Regions from separate parts of the Homo sapiens genome. Here region 2 is linked to region 1. The links are contacts of gene promoters, found by promoter capture Hi-C in blood cells and fetal thymus (Javierre and others, 2016). All regions are on one chromosome and are shown on one strand. The core of a region is centred on a gene start or on the middle of the fragment in contact, and the rest is flanking DNA. Distances in the headings are between cores, read along the strand shown.

What was found. Contacts are between HindIII fragments. The CHiCAGO score rates a contact against its expected background, and 5 or more counts as called.
Region 2: a contact is called between a fragment that was not itself captured here and the fragment with the promoter of RMC1 in region 1, in 1 of 17 cell types (total CD4 T cells). The highest score is 5.9, in total CD4 T cells.

The regions. Positions count from the first base shown.
Region 1 is chr18:23,501,969-23,505,631 of GRCh38, forward strand. RMC1 (regulator of MON1-CCZ1) reads left to right here and starts at 1,543. Exons shown (of 20, transcript NM_013326.5): 1 at 1,543-1,752; 2 at 2,403-2,479. The coding sequence starts at 1,651. RefSeq lists a silencer at 1,255-1,904 and enhancers at 2,155-2,254, 3,500-3,663. The HindIII fragment of the contact is 15,374 bases long and covers 1-3,663 here.
Region 2 is chr18:23,991,489-23,995,151 of GRCh38, forward strand. TTC39C-AS1 (TTC39C antisense RNA 1) reads right to left here. Exons shown (of 6, transcript NR_110796.1): 6 at 2,725-2,991. It also overlaps a transcript of TTC39C not described here. Among named protein-coding and RNA genes, the nearest start is that of LINC02958, 11 kb to the left of the region's middle. RefSeq lists a silencer at 3,017-3,076. The HindIII fragment of the contact is 925 bases long and covers 1,538-2,462 here.

The DNA of each region.
Region 1 (3,663 bases), core at 293-2,792:
GGTCTCTGCTAAAAATACACACAAAAAAATTAGCTGGGCATGGTGGCAGGTGCCTGTAATCCCAGCTACTTGGGAGGCTGATGCGGGAGAATCGCTTGAACCCGGGAGGTGGAGGTTGCAGTGAACCGAGACAGGGCCATTGCACTCCAGCCTGGGCAACAAGAACGAAATTCCGTCTCAAAATAAAATAAAATAAACAATAAAAATAAAGGGTTAACATGGGGGCTGAGCACGGTCAGCGAGAGAATCACTTGAGGCCAGGAGTCTGAGACCAGCCTGGGCAACAGAGAACGCTGTCTCTACAAAGCATAATAATAAAAAAATGAGCCAGGTGTGGTGGCATGCACCCGTGGTCCCAGCTACTTGTGAGGCTGAGATGGGAGGTTGAGACTGCAGTGAGCCGTGTTCGCATCACTGCTCTCCAGCCTGGGCACAGAGACACTCTGTCTCTGAAACAAACAAAAAAAGAGGGGCTAACATGGTAAATTTCATGTTTCTTATCAAGTAAAAAGGCTTGCTGACCCACAATCTATATTAGGTTTCCCTGTTACTAGCAAGGAGTGAAGGATGTGCTATCCCAAAATATGTCCAAAAATTGGTATATTATTTTGAGCTAAAAACACCGGAGAAATTGTAGTTTCAGAAAGGGCTAGATGACCTGTCGTTTCCTACAGGGAATAAGCAGTAAAGATTCCTCTGGGAGTGGCACCCTCTCTGTACCCGGGTCAGAAAATAGCCCTTATCACCAGAGACTGGGAGTTGGGGCTGCAATGGACCTGAATAAATGAACTTCCCAAGTAACACTTACCTTCCACTAATTTTACACCCTCCCCAATATTTCTCCTAGTGACTCTCTTAGAAATGTATCGCCCCAGCCAGATGCCTTTTGTGCTTTCTTCTCAAATGCATCATTCTTTGTCTAAAAAGTATAAAAGCATCTTGCTGTGGCCACTTCTTCAGACCTCACTCTCTTTTGAAGGTCCCCATGAAAAACTAATAAAGTGTGTATGCTTTTCTTTTGTTTATCTGCCTCTTGTCAATTCGGTTTCTGGCTCCAGCGGAAGAGCCCGCAGAAGCGCTGAGGGGACTGGAGACGGTCTCTGGCGCCCCTACACCTGCTCAGTGAGCCTTCAGCCCCTTCTCCCTGACGAAGCTCCCAGAGGCTGGAACTCTGGCGCGGGAGGCACTTGGGAAATCCTCCCGAAAGCAAGGAGGAGCCTTTCCTAGACCGGGAGCGGTCCCACGCGGGGGTACAGGTTGGGGCAGGGGCGACCGAGCCGGGCACAGGAACTCGCAGCAGGGTAGGGTTGGCGGCTACGCCGCCCTCGGTCCGCGGGGAACCACGCGGGCTTCCGGGTCACGCCGCCGCGTTCCGACCGCCCTCGGGGAGAGGGGAGGAGCCTCCAGCGCCGGGCGGGGCGTGGTTAAGGCCGGTGGGCCCCACCGCAGCCAGACGCTGCCCGTTTAAGCGCAGAGGGCCGCGGGTCACGTGGTGGGCGGGGTGGGGGCGTGGCACCAGGAAGCGGCGTCCGCGCCGGGCCCAGAGCCGCAGCCGCAGCCGCCGCTACAGTCCGGGCCGGGCTCCACCGCGCATCCTGCTCCACTCTGGCGACCGCCCCCGGGGCCCCCGCCGCGGGCGCGGCGCCCGCCATGGGCGAGGAGGACTACTATCTGGAGCTGTGCGAGCGGCCGGTGCAGTTCGAGAAGGCGAACCCTGTCAACTGCGTCTTCTTCGATGAGGCCAACAAGCAGGTCCGGCGCGCCCGCGCTTCCTCCCCCGCGCGGCCCTGCCGGGGTCGTGGGCGCGCCAAGGCCGGTCCCGCGCGACCAGGCCCGAGCGTCCCCTCCTGTCCTGTCCCGTCCCGTCCCAGCGCGGGAGGCGGCGCGCGCTCCTTCCTTGTTGGGTGGGCTCAGCCGCGGCCAGGTGTCCTCGCAGGTGACCTCGGGGCTGGACCCCCGAGCCAGCTGCGCGGATGCAGTGGCCCCGTGGCCAGTGTCTCAATTGTTGGCGCGCCCGTCTTATCTAGGCTTCTTTTGTTGTGTTTGTCATTAGTTACACTCGTAGTCAAGGGTTTAGACGTCGAGATTTTCATTTTCCTTGAAATTTTGTAAAGGGGGAAAAGACTGTACTTCAGGCGTATCAGCGGCGCCGATGCGCGAACCGGTGTTAGAACTTGGAGCCTCGGGAACCCGACCCGGTGTCACGGTGGCATCCTTTTCGCTCTCTGCTCTTGGTTTTTAAAATTCACCTGAGCAGCCAAACATCTGTACCTTGATATGTGCCGTGTTACTTTAGTTGAACCCAGGGTGGTGTATAACAGAAATAATCGCTTGCGGGTTGGCTTCTGAGTTTAGATCCTTTCAGAGTTCAGGCTGTTAACCTTGCTGCTTTTCCCTCTCAGGTTTTTGCTGTTCGATCTGGTGGAGCTACTGGCGTGGTAGTTAAAGGCCCAGATGATAGGAATCCCATCTCATTTAGGTAATGGTATAGACACTTTCAGATCATTTTGTCATGTAAACAGAATGATGTTTTTCTAATTCAAATGGTTTTTTATAATTTTGTCATTTGGTCTGCCCTAAGAGGCCTGAAGTCTGTGTGCGCACATGGAATTCCTGTCTGTAGGGAGGGTCTTCGTGGCACTTACTAGCACCTCTTGTCAGAGTGGAATATCTGGAGCAGTTGATTTGGGAGCCAAATACTTCAAAAGTGGGGCAGCCACTTCCTAGCACTGGAAATTAACAAGTCAGCGTGATGATGTGCCCATTTCTGGTTTGTTCACAGAGGAGGGCGTTCATTTCTTTAGCCCAGGTCTTTCCAGAGTGGCAGGTGGAGGAGATTCATTGTTTCTCATGTAATAATACAAGAAAATCATGGCTTCCACTATACTTAAGGTGACTGCATAGTCCCAGTTCGCACTGTTGAACAGGTTTAATGATCAACAGCAGGGCCTTTCACTTTCAGAAGTGTCTCGATTTGGATGATAAGCTATCTGGCCACTGTAACACTGGTGCTTACAGAAGGTGAAAGTATAATGTAGGCCCTCAATTCAGTAGTGACTTAAAAAATTTTACTGTTGGTCTGTGTTAATGAGAAACTGTCCTTTTTTGAGAGGGAGCCTCCCTCTGTTCCCCAGGGTGGAGTGCAGTGGTGCGATCTTGGCTGACTGCAACCTCCGCCTCCCAGGTTCAAGTGATTCTCCTGCTTCAGCTTCCCAAGTAGCTGGGATTAGAGGCGCCCACCACCACGCCCGGCTAATTTTTTTTGTATTTTTAGTAGAGATGGGGTTTCACCGTGTTGGCCAGGCTGGTTTCGAACTCCTGACCTCAAAACGATCCGCCCGCCTCAGACTCCCACAGTGCTAGGATTACAGGCATGAGCCGCTGCACCCGGCCTGAGCAAGGTTTTAAAGTATGGATGGGGTTCGAGCATGGTGTTTTGGGGAACTCTGGGTCTGTGTAACTGAAGGTTACATAGGGTGTCTCCACAGGGAAGGGGAAATGGTGGTGGTGTGGCCACTGGCAGGGGCCAGCTTGAACCTTACATATTCTCCTATGAAATTAGAGCTTTATCTTCTTATTGAAACTTATCAGGTGGGGTGTGGGATGATCATGTCAGTGTTTGGCAAGATCATGCTGTTCACAGCACGGAGGCTGGCTTAGTTG
Region 2 (3,663 bases), core at 750-3,249, 490 kb after region 1:
ATAAAAAACTAATTGCAGCACAGTTCACAATAGCTAAGATTTGGAAGCAACCTAAGTGTCCATCAATAGATGACTGGACAAAGAAAATGTGGTACATATATACAATGGAGTACTATTCAGTCATAAGAAAGAATAAGATCCTGTCATTTGCAGCAACATGGATGGAACTGGAGATCATTGTGTTAAGTGAAATGAGCCAGGCACAGAAACACAAACTTCATATGTTCTCACTTATTTGTGGGAGCTAAAAATTAAAATAATTGAACTCATTGAGATAGTAAAAGGATGGTTACCAGAGGCTGGAAAGGGTAGTGGTGGAGTAGGTGGAAATGGGGATGGTTAATCGGTTCAAAAAAATAGGATGAATAAGACTTAGTATTGGCTAGCGCAACAGGGTGACTATAGCAAAAAATAATGTAATTGTACATTTTAAAGTAACTAAAATAATATAAATGGATTGTTTGTAACACAAAGGATAAATGCTTGAGGGGATGGATACCCCATTTACCCTGATGTGATTATTAGGCATTGCATGCCTATATCAAAATATGTCATGTAACCCATAAATATGTATACCTATTATATACCCACGAACATTAAAAATAATTTTTTAAAAAAAATTAATAGGATATTATGTCATTTCCCCCAGGTCTGGCTCAGTAATTCCCCATGAACAATGTAGAGGACGTATTGTCTAGTTAACTTGGTTAAATAAGGACTCAATGAATGGGGAAAAATGTATTTGGAAATTCTTTCCTAAAACTGAAATACCGTGGTCATCCATTCATTAAATAGTCACTGAATTCCTACCATGTCCTGGGAGTGTGCAGTGGTGAACAAGCCAGACATGTGGTCTTTGCTCACATGAAGCCTATGGGGAGACAGGAGATCCAAAAATAAATATACCATTACACGTTGTAATTAATTGAAAATATTTGTGTATACTAGGAGGCAGAGAAAGCCCAGTGTGCTGCCTTACTGTAATTTCCAGTCTCTCCAGAAATAAGAAAGGCACTGCTCCACTGCCTTTTAATTGCAGCTTTTCTATGTTTTTGCATTAGGAGTAATTATGTGCCCTTGACATTTTTGTGCTCAGAGTGCAGCAATCTGCCTAACAAGCATGGCTTGCTTCTCCCTGGACATAACTACTGAGTAATTGGCAGGCAGGCCGGACTGACCTGCGCCACACACAGAGCCAGAGCCCGCTGCCAATGCTTCAGGCCCAAGGGCTGTGCTCCTGGGTGCATAGCACAGAAAAGACTGCCAGGCTGTGTCAATCTTTTTAATCATGCTTACGCATATAGGTTAACCACAGTTATGTAAGCAGGTTCTGAGAAAAGGTGAGAAAGAGAATGGAGAGTTTTGCTACAACAGAGGCAGGATTCTGAATTTATTTCCAGCTGCCCATCTTGTCCCTCCTGGAGACCTAACCCCTCCAGCACCTACACACACAGCCTCTTTAGAAGCAACTATCCTGCCACTGGCTCAGAAAGGCTGAGTCCTAAGAATTCTAAAATCTTGCTCCTAAGAAATCTCAAGCTTCTTTTGTGGTAAGTGGCTTAATGAGACAGGGTAAGTGATAAACAAGAAGAATCATTGTATCATTTTATGTTTTTATCATGTTGTCATTGCACTGGCTAAGTTCATCTTTGATGGTAAAATACTAACGCAAATTGAAGCTGTGATAAAAGGGCTTTCAATATGAAATAGACAAGACATATAATGGAAAGAAATGCTTCCAGAATGGATTTCCATAAAAACGTGGCAAGACTTTCTCAGTGCCATTCTTTAAAATCTCTGCTATTTTTCAACAAATGCCAGATGTTAAAGCATTTGCATAGTATCCCTTGGAGGGTTGGGTGTAAAGACATGCATTAATATCAGGTTAATAGAAAATATCTACAATAACAAAATGTCCACACACAGATGCTCAATAAATGCCATAGCACTTGTTATGACTAATTATTATGAAGTACACGGACCCCTTTTCATATCAAATAATTTACTAGACCCTCACTTATAGATCTTGTACTCCTACTTGGTTGAGAATGTATCAAAATAACTAAAAATGTCACTGTGAATTTCATTAAATCTTGTATAAAGATCGAAATGTAGGCCTCCAGCTGTGAAATTTAGAATCTCATCTTTTACTAGCCTTGACCAGCTGTGAGTGAAATGCCAGATCAAAGTTTATTTTTCATAAATATTTAAGTAATGTCACAATTAGCAATGCTATTCTAGATAATTATTTAATTTCACTACATATTATAAACTGAAAATCTATGAAAAAAATTATATACTAATTTAATTGTCTTGGGAAATATAATAGAAATGGACCATAGTTTGACATTAGATGTTTTGGTATTAGGTTTGTGCAAAAATAATTGCTTTTAATGGCAAAACTGCAATTACTTTTGCACCACCCTAATGGTTCATATGACATCACCAACAATCATCCAGAAAGCTTCATATTAATCTTAAATGAATTGTTGCCATTAACAAAGCTTTCTTCTCTGAGATTCAGCTGGAGAAGTTCATTTTGGAAAACATTTAAAACTGTTATGCACATGAATCTCTGAAAAGATATGAAGCTCTGGCAAAAAAATAAATGAAGGCTAAAAACAGAGGGAAACAATTTCCCAGTGCAAAAGATTTTCTATTATTTTCATTATTATTCCTTAGATGTTTTGGCTGAAGATACAAAAAGAAAAACAAATAGATATGTTTTCCTCAAAAACCATCACTTTATTTTTGTGCCACGGTTTTTGTTTAAAATAAGATGACAGAGAAGAAAATTATAGAGATAAAATCAATTGTAGTAACCAAAAAAAAAAAAAAAAATCAGTTTTAGTAACCAAAGGAAATCAGTCTGTATTTCCAAAACCTTTGTGTGAGAGCCCATCAGTGTGGTTGGCAGATGTTTTACAAACACTTAGGGAATCTGTCATGAACTTTAAAGACCAAGAGAGCTTTTTCTGTTTGCCAGGAAATCTAGGAAAACAAAGGAAAATTAAACCCATTAGCCTAGTTTAACATCATGTGCTTCCCCCACTCGCCCCTCCCCTCATAGCCAGGGCTTACACAAACACACTGAATGGTACTTACGTTCCTTAGGTATTACCAGTTGGCCCCGTTTCAAGGCTTTAAAAAAGCCTCATCACTATGCACCCAACGTTAACACTCAAAGCCCCGCAGGGCTGTATCTTGGACGGCTGTTGCTACTGAGTGTGATTCTCAGCAGATGAAATGCTAGCAGCAGCAGCAGCAGCATCTATGAACTGCCTTATAATAAACTGCAACTTGGCTGCACTTAGTCATCACCAGGGCCACGCGCTGATGCGTGAACTCCACCCTCAGAGACTCTGATTTCATTGGTCTGGGAGTGGCCTGGACATCAGGATCTTTTCCTTTTTTTTAAAAAAAAATAATAATAATTATAATCCACAAGATTTTCCTAATGGTTACATCTCACACCATGAAATTGACTTTGGTAAAATGTGTGTATAGTTCTCTGTCACTTTATCACGTGTGTAGGTTTGTCTAATCAGCATTGCAATTATGATACAGAACTATTCCTTCATCACAAAGATATGCCTTTATGGTATCACTTACCTGCCTTCTCTCTACTATCCCTAACTCCTGACAAACACTAATCCCGATAAT